5 separate regions of the Homo sapiens genome follow, and all the other regions are linked to region 1. Evidence: promoter capture Hi-C in 16 types of primary human blood cells and fetal thymus (Javierre and others, 2016). All regions are on one chromosome and are shown on one strand. Each heading gives the region's core, a stretch centred on a gene start or on the middle of the fragment in contact. The rest is flanking DNA. Distances are from core to core; before and after follow the strand shown. Region 1 holds the start of RPS12 (ribosomal protein S12). Region 2 has its middle 28 kb from the start of SLC2A12. Region 3 overlaps LOC124901404 (a long non-coding RNA gene). Region 4 has its middle 14 kb from the start of TBPL1. Region 5 holds the start of SLC2A12 (solute carrier family 2 member 12).

What was found. The method cuts DNA at HindIII sites, captures the fragments that hold promoters and counts their contacts. A CHiCAGO score of 5 or more calls a contact.
Region 2: a fragment that was not itself captured here is called in contact with the fragment with the promoter of RPS12 in region 1 in 1 of 17 cell types (M2 macrophages); the score reaches 5.6 in M2 macrophages.
Region 3: a fragment that was not itself captured here is called in contact with the fragment with the promoter of RPS12 in region 1 in 6 of 17 cell types (naive B cells, total CD8 T cells, naive CD4 T cells and 3 more); the score reaches 8.9 in naive B cells.
Region 4: a fragment that was not itself captured here is called in contact with the fragment with the promoter of RPS12 in region 1 in 2 of 17 cell types (total CD8 T cells and naive B cells); the score reaches 7.6 in total CD8 T cells.
Region 5: the fragment with the promoter of SLC2A12 here is called in contact with the fragment with the promoter of RPS12 in region 1 in 1 of 17 cell types (total CD8 T cells); the score reaches 6.0 in total CD8 T cells.

What each region holds. Positions count from the first base shown.
Region 1 is chr6:132,813,146-132,815,845 of GRCh38, forward strand. It overlaps RPS12 (ribosomal protein S12), which reads left to right and starts at 1,424. Exons shown (of 6, transcript NM_001016.4): 1 at 1,424-1,468; 2 at 1,587-1,637; 3 at 1,827-1,943. The coding sequence starts at 1,624. It overlaps SNORD101 (small nucleolar RNA, C/D box 101), which reads left to right and starts at 2,162; the gene lies at 2,162-2,234. It overlaps LOC107986644 (a long non-coding RNA gene), which reads right to left and starts at 1,143. Exons shown (of 3, transcript XR_001744345.3): 1 at 148-1,143. RefSeq lists enhancers at 389-1,135, 1,050-1,329, 1,760-1,889. The HindIII fragment of the contact is 13,401 bases long and covers 1-2,700 here.
Region 2 is chr6:134,079,303-134,082,002 of GRCh38, forward strand. No RefSeq gene overlaps it. Among named protein-coding and RNA genes, the nearest start is that of SLC2A12, 28 kb to the left of the region's middle. The HindIII fragment of the contact is 2,035 bases long and covers 249-2,283 here.
Region 3 is chr6:134,099,031-134,101,730 of GRCh38, forward strand. All of the region lies in intron 2 of LOC124901404 (a long non-coding RNA gene), which reads left to right. Among named protein-coding and RNA genes, the nearest start is that of SLC2A12, 48 kb to the left of the region's middle. The HindIII fragment of the contact is 5,204 bases long and covers 1-2,700 here.
Region 4 is chr6:133,937,612-133,940,311 of GRCh38, forward strand. No RefSeq gene overlaps it. Among named protein-coding and RNA genes, the nearest start is that of TBPL1, 14 kb to the right of the region's middle. The HindIII fragment of the contact is 2,003 bases long and covers 264-2,266 here.
Region 5 is chr6:134,051,368-134,054,067 of GRCh38, forward strand. It overlaps SLC2A12 (solute carrier family 2 member 12), which reads right to left and starts at 1,257. Exons shown (of 5, transcript NM_145176.3): 1 at 1,011-1,257. The coding sequence starts at 1,113. The HindIII fragment of the contact is 5,616 bases long and covers 1-2,700 here.

The DNA.
Region 1 (2,700 bases), core at 174-2,673:
AACTGAAACCAGCGGAAAATCTAAAACTGAACTCTATCAGTAAACTGAACTCTATCAGTTTATTAACATTACAGCAGGTCTCTGTTCTGGTGAACTCCCTGGTGCTCTTACTGCGTTACCCATTTTTGTTTTTTTCGCTGCACTCACCAGTCTAACAGTATCTGCCCACTGGATTCACAGCGCTGGCACGTGCCAAGCGCCTAATAATTGCTCACTGGTTTGGCGGCTGACTACCCAGGAGAGGAAATTAAACACAAAGGCAGTATTGATCATATTCAGTAGTGTTTCGTGCGTTTGGTTTGGAAGTGGGGATTGGGGAATGGCCAATCACTTCCAAATTTAAAATATTGCTTCCTGGAAGAAAATGGACTCCTCAAAGACTGGATATTTCATGTCTGTAGTCCCAGGACCTGGCCCTGCGTCAGGCACATTGTAGGTGTTGAAAATGCACCTGAGGAATTCTGAGTTGCGCGGAACTGTGTATTCCGAGCACAACGCGTCGTTAAAAACCAAACAAAGCAGAACAAACTTCGTTCAGAAGCGACTCCCGCTATACTTAGAAACTAGAATTGACCCCTGGCTGCAGGGTTCCGCTTTACCAACACACCGCAGGGAAAGGGCTTAGAAATAGTGAAAGCGGCCGGGGGCGGCGGGTCACGCCTCTAATCCCAGCATTTTGGGAGGCCGAGGCGGGTGGATCCCCTGAGGTCAGGAGTTCGAGACCAGCCTGGCCAACATGGTGAAATCCCGTCTTTACTAAAAATACAAAAAATTAGCCAGGGTGGTGGCAGGCGCCTGCAATCCCGGCTACTCGGGAGGCTGAGGCAGGAGAATCGCTTGAAACCGGGAGCCGGAGGTCGCAGTAAGCTGAGATCGCGCCATTGCACTCCAGCCTGGAAGAGTGAAAGCATGTAGGCTCTCGTTTCATGAAGACAAAGATGAGGATCACACCCACAACGACACAAACATGGTCTCTCAGGGTGACTTAGAAGCGAAGGAACAAAGTGCGCTGCCTGGGGAGGCTGGGTCTTGTAGAAGCAACAGGAAAGTAGAACGTGGTGTGGAAAGGGTTAAAACTGGCGCTCGGCGGGATACAGGGCTCTAGGTGCCTTAAAGAACACGCGGACACACTTGTTTGGCTTCTGTCGCGCTCCGTAGAATGAGTTCCCTGGGCCTCGGTGGGCCACGCCTCCGCAAAGAAGGACAACGCGAAGCTGCCCGCGTAGTGCCTGTTGCACTCGCCAAGGACCGGCCTGGCAGAGATAGAAAACTCGCAGTACGTTTGCCTCAGAACCGCCTCAATCCGGAAACAGAAACTCCCCAGGCCCGGCACTGCGGGAGCCACCTCTTTCGAGGGTGGGAGTGCACATGCGCACAGGGGACCTGAAAAACCCTTAAATACCGGCATGCGTGCGGATGAGGCCTCTTTCCCTGCCGCCGCCGAGTCGCGCGGAGGCGGAGGCTTGGGGTAAGTTGAGCGAGGCGGCAGGGGGGTGTATTGGTTATAATTTGTGGCTCGTTGCGTTCTTGCTGGGATTCGTGACGAGTATCTGGTTCTTTAACAAGTCAATGCTTTTGTTTTTTAGTGCGTTCAAGATTCAACTTCACCCGTAACCCACCGCCATGGCCGAGGAAGGGTGAGCCCAGGGGCCGGGGTTGGAGTTGGGGTCGGGGTGCGGCTGAGGCGTGGGGCTAGAGCTGGCGGAACAGGACTGGGTCAAACGGGTCGCCGTAAGCGCGTCTGTTGTACACTTAGCTTTTGCTGAGTGCAAGGCCTTATGTGGTGTGAGGATTTTAACTGATGGTTCTGATGTGTCGCGTTTAAGCATTGCTGCTGGAGGTGTAATGGACGTTAATACTGCTTTACAAGAGGTTCTGAAGACTGCCCTCATCCACGATGGCCTAGCACGTGGAATTCGCGAAGCTGCCAAAGCCTTAGACAAGTACGTGTATCAGTCTCAATACTGTGGGTTCTTGCAACCGGAACAAAACTGCCACCCAAGGGAAGAAGGCATGGAGTTCATGGTGTTAGCGCAAAAGTTCTGAATGGCATCCGTCCTACCGGAAACCTAGGAAAAGGTATCAGAACTCAGATCTATAAAGCCCACTTAAAATGTGTGGGTTGCTGTTTGGAATGGGGATAAGCACTCAAAACTACAGTGTTTGAATGATGACTTTAATTGTCGGATACCCCTTCACTCCTTTTATGAGTGAAACATAAGAGTCTGACAAACCTGTAGGTTGTGGAGCTAGTCAGTCTTATACTTATCTGGCAGATAGATGAGATGGAGAGCCACATTACATCTGGTAGTTTGCAAAACAAGCATTAATTTAATGGAATTTCAAACTCAGGTTTCAGAAGCATTTGGTCCTAGATGAATTTAGTAGTATAATAGCTGTGATTTATTTGAATTTGGGATATTTGTTAATGTATTTGAATGGATCGAGTTAATGTGTTTTTTAGGGTGGTGGCATTGACAAATCAACCTACTCTTGAGCTGAATTTAAATGCAGTTTTAAGGTTTTACAGGACAAGTTCGTTTTGGTGTAATCTAGCCAGTTCAATCCGATGGAAACGGCATTATTGTTTAATGTATTTAGTAGGTCCTAGTATGAGTCTTCTGTATTTCTATTTCGGCATTATTGCATGGCATTTCATAACTGTTCCATTAATGCCACAGTCTTTTTTTTTTCTTTTTT
Region 2 (2,700 bases), core at 16-2,515, 1.3 Mb after region 1:
CAGTGAGCCAAGATTGCACCATTAAACTCCAGCCTAGGCAACAGAGTGAGACTCTGCCAAAAAAAAAAAAAAAAAAAAAAGAATATAAGTGATATAGGAGTTAAAAAAAATTATTTAGGCAGATAGTGAGGGTAAGGAAGTCCTCAGTAAGGTTTTCTTTTTAATGAAAAACAGGCTCCAAATCATTTTCTTTTCTAACAAAGAACAGCCTGTAAAATCGAGCTGCAGACATAGACAAGCAAAGTGGAAGCTTGCACAGGTGAATGCTGGCAGCTGTACAAGTAGGAAAAGGCTACCTGGGACTAGGCATGTTCAAACTGGCGGCTCCATCTTTCTTTCTCTTTGCCAGCCACGTGTACAGTAAGGAGAAGACAACTTGGCCCCAGCCAAGTGGAAAGCCCATTTGCATAATAAGATTAAGGTGGGATGGCCAGCCTTCCCCCTGTGCTATATAAACGTTACACCTGGTCCAACCATTCTGTGGGCCCTATGTAAATCAGACACCACCTCCTCAAGCCTGTCTGTAAAATCCGGTGCACTCCCATTCCAGGCTCGAATTCTCATTCGGGAGACCCTCTCTCTTGCAAGAGAGAGAGCTGTTCTCCTTTCTCTTTCTTTTTCCTATTAAATCTCCACTCCTAAAATCACTCCTTGTTTGTGTCTGTGTCCTTAATCTTCTTGATGTGAGATGACAAACCCTGTGCATTTACACGAGACAATAGTGCCGTTTCATAAGGAAGAAGAAGAATCAAGTCAAGATTGCTTATTGTAAGTTAGCCTAGAATTTATGGAGTTATGTAACATGACTGGTTGGTGAATGGATGGCACACAACTAAATATCTTCCTTTGAGAAATAAAAATAAAACTCTAAGTCCCCCAGCTAACTGAACAGACACCTTCTTGGCCAAGGGGACCCCAGAAAAACCTTAAAAACCAAGTCCTCGGTCGTGACAGAATGTGATGCTGGACACGCCTCATTAGAGCTCCTCCTCCACTGACTACTGCTAGGCTTTCTTCCCTAAGGGGTAAACAGAAACCAGTCCTTTTGAAACCAACCACCTGATGCTGCCCCTCCCTGTTGTGGTTTTGACAGAACAACTGATCAACATTCCTTCCTGATAAGAGACCACTGGCCATGGAGTGGATAGCAGAGGCTGCACACAGAGGGCCTTCCTGTCCTCTGCTTCACCTTTTGATGGATAGGGTCTAATTGTAATATATTTAAATGTTAAGTGTCCACCCCAAAGTGAACATGGGATGCATGCTGCATGCGTGTCAGCCTTCCCACTACACACACCTGTGCCTTCTCTTCTTGAATATCCATAGCTCCTCCTTTAACCTGTTGAATATGTATACTTAGCCAACTGACTCGGCATAAATTCCTGTTCCCTTCACCCCTCTCTTGAAGTGTGTTTCCTTCCCAGCCTGTCAGAATGGCCACCTGCAGGCTGCAACCCTTTATGAGAAATATGGCTTTTCTTTCCAAATTTATGAACCTCCCTCATGATTCTTCAACTGACACTTTGAAAACAATTATTTCACATACAATTGTTCAGAAGACAATTGTTAATCTGAAAACAAAATGTATACTCATAAGGGAGACAGAGATATTGTTTTTTAAACTGGAGTCTGACAGATTCCTGCTCCTCTCAAAAGAAATGCCACATCTGTCCATGGTCTGGTTCTTGCCTGTAGTCTTTGAATTATTAGTGAAGTTTGGTGCTGGGTAAGATCTACCATTCAAGTGTGGCTGCTTTGACAATTCTGCCCTTCTACTTTTTTTTTTTTTTTTTTTTAGATGGAGTCTCACTCTGTCACCCAGGCTGGAGCACAGTGGCATGATCTCGGCTCACTGCCACCTCCGCCTCTCGGGTTCAAGCGATTCTTCTGCCTCAGCCTCCCAAGTAGCTGGGACTACAGGCATGCACTACCATACCTGGCTAATTTTGCATTTTTAGTAGAGACAGAGTTTCACCGTGTTGATCAGGCTGGTCTTGAATTCCTAACCTCAGGTGATCCACCCTCCTCGGCCTCCCAAAGTGCTGGGATTACAGGCATGAGCCACCGCGCCTGGCCTGCCCTTCTACTCTTAAGGCAGGTAGGTGGGCAGATGTCATTGTGGGAGTGTGGTATACACAATGTCTTCTCTAGACTTAAAAAAAATTCTCTTTGGCTCCCTGGATAAACTTTGATTTCTCTAGATTTAGTCATTCTGTTTATTCCTATTGGTCCTTCTCTTTCAATCACTAATTTTGGGAAATTGCTCTTGGTTACCTGGCAACAAGCTTGTTGAGACTGATGGCTCATGTTTCCCAGAGAAAGAGCCTGAGTTTTCCCATGTGCTCAAGTGCTGCCCTGCATCCACTGGGATGGCTTCTACCAGAATTCAGCTTCTCACAGTAGTAGGCACTGTCCAATTCTCCAGATGCTGAAAGCTGGTATTTTCCAGGGGTGATTGGTGCCTAAGCTCAGACTTCTTAGTACTTGAGGTCAAAATGTTTATTTCTCACATTCAAGGCCATTGTTGGGCTCACTTTACACACAGGGAGTGCAACAGGAATTCAGGGTCTCCAGCAGGAGACCCTTGTGTTCAGCAGCTCCCCGAATCAAGCATGCCTCTCTCTACAGGATGTGGGTGGCATGAGTCCCAAGTACTTTTTGCTCCCAACCTCCACCATTTGTAGCCTCTGGTGTTTACCC
Region 3 (2,700 bases), core at 88-2,587, 1.3 Mb after region 1:
TCAGATTCCATCCAAAGTCCTTAGAATGGCCTCCAGGCTGCACAGAAACCGGGCAGGAATGACCTTATTTCCTTGGACCTTCTTCTTCCACACTGTGCCCAGTCTCACAAGACTTCTAACTCTGCCTGAACATTCCCACTTTAGAGTATTCGCACTTGCTGTTTTACCCACCTGGAGCGCTCTTCCCAGATGTTGCAATGACTTGCTTCCTCATATCACTCAGAACCTCTGCTTAAATGTGACTTCTACATCCAGGGCTCCCCGAAACATGCTAACAAAGGCAGCCATCCCCTTCCTCACTCCATCCCATTACACTCCATCCCTGAACCAGCTGAGCCCTATGTTAATTTGGAGCACCAGTCACTCCATGATATTATGGATTTATTTGTTGGTGGTATGCCTCTGCCCTAAGATGTCTACTTCATCAAGGTGGGGTCTTTGCCAGTTCTTCACAACTATACTCCCAGTGCCTACCAGATAGGAGGAATTTTCTAAAATTTATTGAGTTTGTGTGAGAATTATTGAAAAAAATGAAACTTTAGGGGCTCTATTGACTTTTTCTCAGATTTTACATTTAATTATCTAAAGTAATAATTATCACTTATAGAATACGTGCTAAGTGATAAATACTAAGCATTTAACACACATTATCTGACTTAATCCTCATAGTAATGCCAAAAGAATTACTGAATTGAATGTGTTTTCTTCGATTGCCTGGTGACCCTGGTTATCCATTCATTTTCAAAAGTTAAGAAAATTCTTATTATAAACTACTGAGAAAGGAAAGGAAAAAGAAAGTGCTTCATCAATACAAATAAGTAGCATAGATTTTCTCAGACACTGTGTAGATACATTTCCAAAACAAGCCTTTTCCCTGGATTTAAACTGGCTTAAGCTAGTCCAACCATTAGAAACAGATCATTGCTGGGACACGTCAGTAGTCTCCAGTGACTAAAGGTAGTAGAGAGTGAGAGGTGTTCCCACACAACCTTACTATCAGGTATATGTTATGATGAAAGCAAGTTTCAGGTTGAATTATGGCTCAAACAAATAGCTTTTAGCAAGCTGGCCCAATAACAGCTATATAATCTGTTTTTACAAGCTCTGTGACTACCTTGCATAAAAACTTCATTGAATGTAACAATATTTTAGTAGGAAGATTTAACTAACCTAGTGTGATTTTAAAGTAGCATGATCAGGTTTTCTTTGGAGCCCTAGAACAAGAAATTTGAAAGGTATGGGAAGCTGCACTCATTGGATTCTGATATCCCAGCTCATGCAAGGGCAACCATTCTTGCATAATATTTTTTAGCAAATCACATAACTTGAACACCATTCATTTCAACAATTAAAAAATGAATTCTAACAGCTCTTATGCTGGTAAACAATCCTTATAGTGCAGATGGAAATCACCGAAGCCTGTAGGAGTAGCCTCTGCAGGGAGGCTGCCTGATTAGAGTGTTTCAAATGCTAACCACTTCTGGAGCATGTATTCTTGATTAGGGAAAACATGCTTCAGATGTCAAATAACCTATCCTAGGGCCTTCACACTTCATATATATATCACACTGTCCAAGTTTAAGTAAGAAAATATTTGCAAACTATTCATCTGACAAGAAATTAATAACTGGGCCGGGCAGGGTGGCTCACGCCTGTAATCCCAGCACTTTGGGAGGCCGAGGCAGGCGGATCACGAGGTCAGGAGATCGAGACCATCCTGGCTAACATGGTGAAACCCCGTCTCTACTAAAAATACAAAAAAATTAGCTGGGCGTGGTGGCGGGTGCCTGTAGTCCCAGCTACTCAGGAGGCTGAGGCGAGAGAATGGCGTGAACCCGGGAGGTGGAGCTTGCAGTAAGCGGAGATCGCACCACTGCACTCCAGCCTGGGCAACAAAGCAAGACTCCGTCAAAAAAAAAAAAAAAGAAATTAATAACTGGAATATATAAGGAATTCCAACAACTCAACAACTCAATAGCAAAATAATAATAATAATAATCTTATTAAAATGGGCAAAATACATGAATAGACATTTCTCAAAAGAAGTCATAGAAATGTCCAAGTATATAAAAAATGCTCAGTGTCACTAATCATCAGGAAAACTCAAATCAAAAGCACAGTGAGATATCATCTCATTCTAGTTAGAATGGCTATTATCAAAAAGACAAAAAATGACAAATGCTGGTGAGAATGTGGAGACAGGCGAACACTTGTACACTGTTGGTGGGGTTGTAAAGTAGTGCAGCTATTATGGGAAACAGTATGGAGGTTCCTCAAAGAACTAAAACTATACCTACCATATGATCCATCAATCCCACTGCTGAATATATATCCAAAAGAAAGGAAATCAGTATATCAAAGAGATATCTCACCGCACAGCCAGGTAGCCGCAGACACACATCTCCATGAACCGCTTGAAAGTTGTGGCCTCCATCTTGCCCCCCCATGATTATCACCATCTCATCCATCAGCTTGATGTCGGGTTCCTAGCCGAGATTGCTGCCCGGCGAGCTTCTCAGACCCGTGGACACTTGCATGTTTATTGCAGCCCTACTCACAATAGCCAAGATATGGAATCAACCCAAGTGTCCATCAACAGATGAATGGATAAAGACAGTGGAATATTATTCAGCCACGAAAAAGAACAAAATCCTGTCATTTGCAACAACATGAATAGAACTGGAGGTCATTATGTTAAGT
Region 4 (2,700 bases), core at 15-2,514, 1.1 Mb after region 1:
GTTCACTGCAACGTCCACCTCCCAGGTTCAAGTGATTCTGCTGCCTCAGCCTCCCAGGTAGCTGGGATTACAGATATGCGCCATCAAGCTCTGCTAATTTTTGTATTTCTAGTACAGATGTGGTTTCACCATGTTGGCCAAGCTGGTCTTGAACTCCTGACCTCAAGTGATCCACCCACCTCAGCCTCCCAAAGTGCTAGGATTACAGGCCTGAGCCACTGTGCCTGTCCTGTTTTGTTTTTCTTAATCAGTCAAGCTTGATAAGCTTGACTTTTAACTGGAGTATTTAGTTCATATACATTTAATGTAATTGTCTACATATTTGGGTTTTAATTTACCATCTTATGGTGTGCTATTTGTTCTACCTATTCAGTATATACTTTTCTCTTTTTTCTTGCTTCTTTCAACAAATTGTTTCTTATCATCCAATTTTTTCCCTTTACTGCTGGGAGATTGTGTAATTTGTTTCTATTCTTTTAGTAATTATCCTAGAATTACAACATGCATACTTAACCTTTACCCTTCATACAAGCTGCTTAGGATATTTGATTCCATTTGACCCTCTTCAACATATGTGATACTTGTAATTGCATTTTTTTCTATTTTTTAGATGCTATATTGTTGTTCTTTTACTCTTTCAGTGTATATTAACTTATTTATTCACCACTTTCTTTGTTCTTTATACCTTTTTATAGCTTACATTTTTTTTATCTGCCTAACGCACTTTTTTTATAACTTTCTTTAGTATGATTCTGCTTAGGAAAAACTACTAGTCTTCATTAGCCTGAAAATGTCTTTATTTCAGCCTCACTATTAAAATATTTTTCACTAGACATTAAGACTAGATAGTAATTTTCTCTCAGTAAGTGGAAGATCCCCCTCCATTGTCTTCTGATGTCTCTTGCTGCTGCTGAGCAGTCATGTCAGTTTCATATTTACTCCTTTGAAAGCAATTCATCACTTTTCTCTGATTGTTTTCACTATTTTCTTTTCTTTTTCTATTTTTTTTAGCTTTGCTCTTCAGCTGTTTCATTATGACAATTTTAGATATAGGTTTCTTCTTGTTTATTTTGCTTGAGACTCACTGGGTTGTCTTAACCTGTACATTAGTGTCTTTCATGTACATTAGTGTCTTTCATCACTTCCGTAAAATTCTCAGCCATTATCTCTTCAGATATTACCTTTGCCCCATTTCTCTCTCCTCTCCTTCCTAGATTCTGATGAGATGTATATTAATCTATTCTCCTCTGTTGTTTATTTCTTTTAATTCTTATTCTGTGTTTTCTTTTTGTCTCTCTGTTTCACTTTTAAATTATTGTTTTTCTGACCTAGCTCCTAGTTCACCAATTCTCTTTTCAACTGTATTTAGTCTGCCGTTAAAGTCATCAACTGGCTTTCAAGGTGGCCTAAAATGCATATTTACCTCCTTGCCCTTTCAAAATGCAATTAAATTGAAGAAATGTAAAAATAAAAATTATGTAAAAACATAAACATAAAAATTAATTCAGGCCAGGCATGGTGGCTTACACCTAGAGTCCCAGCACTTTGGGGGGCTGAGGTGGGTGGATCACCTGAGGTCAGGAGTTTGAGACCAGCCTAGCCAACATGGTGAAACCTCATCTCTACTAAAAATACAAAAAAAAAAAAAAAAATTAGCCAGGTGTGGTTGCGCATGCCTGTAATCCCAGTTACTTGGGAGACTGAGGCAGGAGAATCGCTTGAACCCAGGAGGTGGAGGTTGCAGTGAGCCAAGATTGTGCTATTGCACTCCAGCCTGGTGACAGAGTGAGACTCCGTCTCAAAGAAAAAAAAATTAATTCGTAGCAGCACTAAAAACCAGTATGGAGTGCCACCAGAAGACTAAAACAGTGGAGAATTTCTGAACCATATAAATTTATTTTATTCTTTGGTCCTTTTTTAAATATCTGCAACGTAATTTTTCCCGAAGATATTTCAAATTTATCTTTTATTTCATTAAATAATAACTATAGTTTTATTACCTGTTTTATAACCTGCTAAATCCAAATATTAAGTATTTGTGGTTCTATGGCCTTTGTTATTTCTGTTTGTTCTTGCTTATGTTGTCTTCTTTCCTCATGTGTCTGTTTAAACTTGACTACACATGTTCTGGTAATAGTACTTTAAAATGTATTTGTGGGAACTATCCTAGCCTAACAGGAATCCACCTTCCTATAGAGAGATATCTTTGTTTCTGCTAGGCACCTAAGGACACCATCAGTCTGAGACTACCTTAATCTAAGTTCAAAGCTTGAAATTCCCGGGACCGTCACCATGATGGAAACAACCAAAAGAGGATTTGTTTATTTCAGGTATATTCTTGCCCTAAGGACACAGCCCTTTCATTTCCTACCTCACTGTCAGGAGGATCTCCTTCCTGTTCAGCTTCCTGCTTTGTGCAATCCCTGGGCAATTGCCATACCTTTCACTCAGTGGGGACATCAAAACGAAAGTTCAAGTTGTCATTACCCCTACAAAGCATAAACACCTTCTACTGCTTATTTATCTCTCTTGGTTCTTTTTCGTTCCTAATTTTGGTCTTACAGTATCTTATTCTCTGTTCAGTATTTGCTTTTAAAAAGGATTTTAGATTTTTTCCCCAGCATTTTTAATAGTTTTCTTCAGAATGTTTGGTCAATTACCAAAATCCAGAGGTTCATTTCTTTCTTCCTGTGTTATATT
Region 5 (2,700 bases), core at 7-2,506, 1.2 Mb after region 1:
AGGCAAACGTCAGTATTAGGACCATTCCCAAGAGAAAGGCAGATGTCTTTTGTATCATTTAGTGTATTGGATTTTGCATGAAATTTCTATATGCTGCTTGGGAATGTAATATCTGATTAAGAATACACAGCTGAGGAAAGTAGTAGGAAAGAGAAGATTTTTTGTGTTTGTTGTCATTTCATATTACAATTACTTTCTATTCCTTGCAGCACAAACTAAATGAGCAGGAAGAGGCAGCAAAAAGCGTACAATGTATTTGTGGGAATTGTAAATGTGGAAGTGAAGACCAGCCTCTGATTTATCAAAGATCATTAAATGAATTAAAACTTTTCCAAATTTCACCTTCAGAAGGTCATCATAGCAAACAAACCTCAGTTTGCAAGGCCAGTTTTAAAGAAGGCAGAACCCAGCAAAGCAAGCGTTTCAGGCTCTGAATAACGCTCAAATTCATCACAAACGTGCTGGGAATTTAAAAAGGAAGTTTGTGTTCTCATTGATTACATAACTAATAATTTTATGAAGCCTGTTTAAAATACTGATTTTTAAAACAGTGGTTATAATGTCAACTGGTTACACAGTGTCCATTTGTGACAATAAATGAAAAAGTGTAAGCAAGCGTGTGCTTGTGTGTGTTTACAAATGAGACTATCTTTGCCAGTGGACCGTTCCAATATGAAAAACATCCATACATTGTATTATGTAAACACAATCAAGGGGACCCATCATACCAGTGGTGGATGTGTAACCTGTATTTTCTTGGCACATAAGGTTCCACCAAGACTTCGATCTTCACAACATTACAGCTCCGAGCTGTCCCACGTCCCACCAGACCCTGTCCCCTTCTCTCCACTCATCCAGCGCGCCCACATGCGCGCGCGCGCATACACACACACACACACACACACACACACACACACACACACACACACGGGACTCAAGAGACAGTACACTCGGGAGATGAGTACAGCTTGCTTCTCTGCGGTCACCCGAGCACTGCAGGCTCACTTTACCTCTCGCCCAGGGAGGATGCCGGCTGCCGCTGCCCTCCGTCTCCACGGCTGTCCCCTTCTGGTTCAGCAGACTGGGGCCCTCGGTGTTTTCAACAGGTACCATGGTCACGTAGAAGTTACAGCCGCTTCCCCGCCACCAAACCGCCCCGACCACCCCCGCTCCCAGGAGTGGTCACTTTCCCCATAATAGCATGCTAAAGAAGAGTGTGGGGAAAAACTTCGGGCAAAGCTAATGTGATTTGTGACCAACTTTGTTTCTATTTCCGAAGGCTTTGCCCTTTTCGGTGACACAGGCTGTTGCTATTCCAAGCAGCCTATCACAGGCAGGGGGAGGGCCGTGAGTCAGAGGATTGTTTTTGCCTTTAGATGCAGAGTTGGAAGCAAGGGGTTAAAAGAAAGGGAACTCAGACGGAGTGTTTGGCCATTAGCTAAGGGTAGCTCTTGTATTCTAGCACCTTTGAAAAGAGGCAGAGAAAGGAAACATGCAGATTTAAATGCAAGCTGAGAGTGGGGATAGAATACTCACAGATGGTATCAGTTAATCTTGCAGAAAGAGGAACAATTTATGCAAAGACATACCAGAAGGAAAAGTGTGTCAATTTTTCAGCAAGACTGTTATTCCAAAAGTCATGGTATTTACCAGCTTACACAAAGCATAAAATACCTTTATTGTTTCAACCTGATTTTGGTCTAGGTAAAGGCCTATATCTTTCTCTCCAAGGCCTTTCAGATAAATCACAGCCTGAGACCAAAAATACACAAACTCAGAATGCACAGATTCTTTAGACTTTTTATATGCTGAGGTTATAGCAAAGTAATCCATTTCTTAATGCAGAATTGTCTTTAAGAGACAAATTAACACTGAATCCTCTGTTAGGTTTCATGTTTGCGTAGGTAGGAGGAGGATACTCCTCACTCAGAGAGGCCAGACTAAGTGGCCCATTGTGTGCGTGTGGTGGACATGTAATCTCAAACAAAATCAGGTCATGAGAGAGGATCTTTTTCTGATTTGTGAACATATTTATAAAAAAGTCTTACAGGGTTATGACATTTTACCTTCAGTTATTCATTCAACAAATCATGTTTATTAAAAAAAAAAGCCTTATAGAGGAAATTGAGATCATCTTAAAAATCATTTGGAATAAAAACTAACATGTGTGGAGCACTTATGTGCCAGAAATTGTGCTAAGCGCAATAACGCAGATGATGACTTTGAGGCAGGTACCAACATTATAGAAGAGGAAATGGAGGTTGGGTAACTTGGCTACAGTCTCACAGCTAATCAGTGGTAGAGCTGAGATTATGAATCCAGGAGGTCTAAAGCTGTAACTCTCCTATATTCTAACTTCCCAGCCTTGTCCTTCTCTAATTTTCTTGGCTTCCTATGGTTTCAGACCTACTCGACTTTAAGAAGATGCCGTGAAATATGGCTTTTAGTCATAGGCATTTCTCTGGACAGAAAAACAAATTTGTGCTTGTATAAGCAGAAGCTAAATTTTTGTTACTTCTTTTCAACATTTTAACTGAATCACTTCAAAGTTCTAAATTCACTTATTTGTACATTTCCTTTGCTTGTCATTAAATAATTCTATATTTTTCTTATCTTTCAGGGAAACAGGTAGCAAATGGAAACAAACCTATAATAATTCAACTAGTCTTTATTATGTACCCGTTGTATGTCTGCTGATAG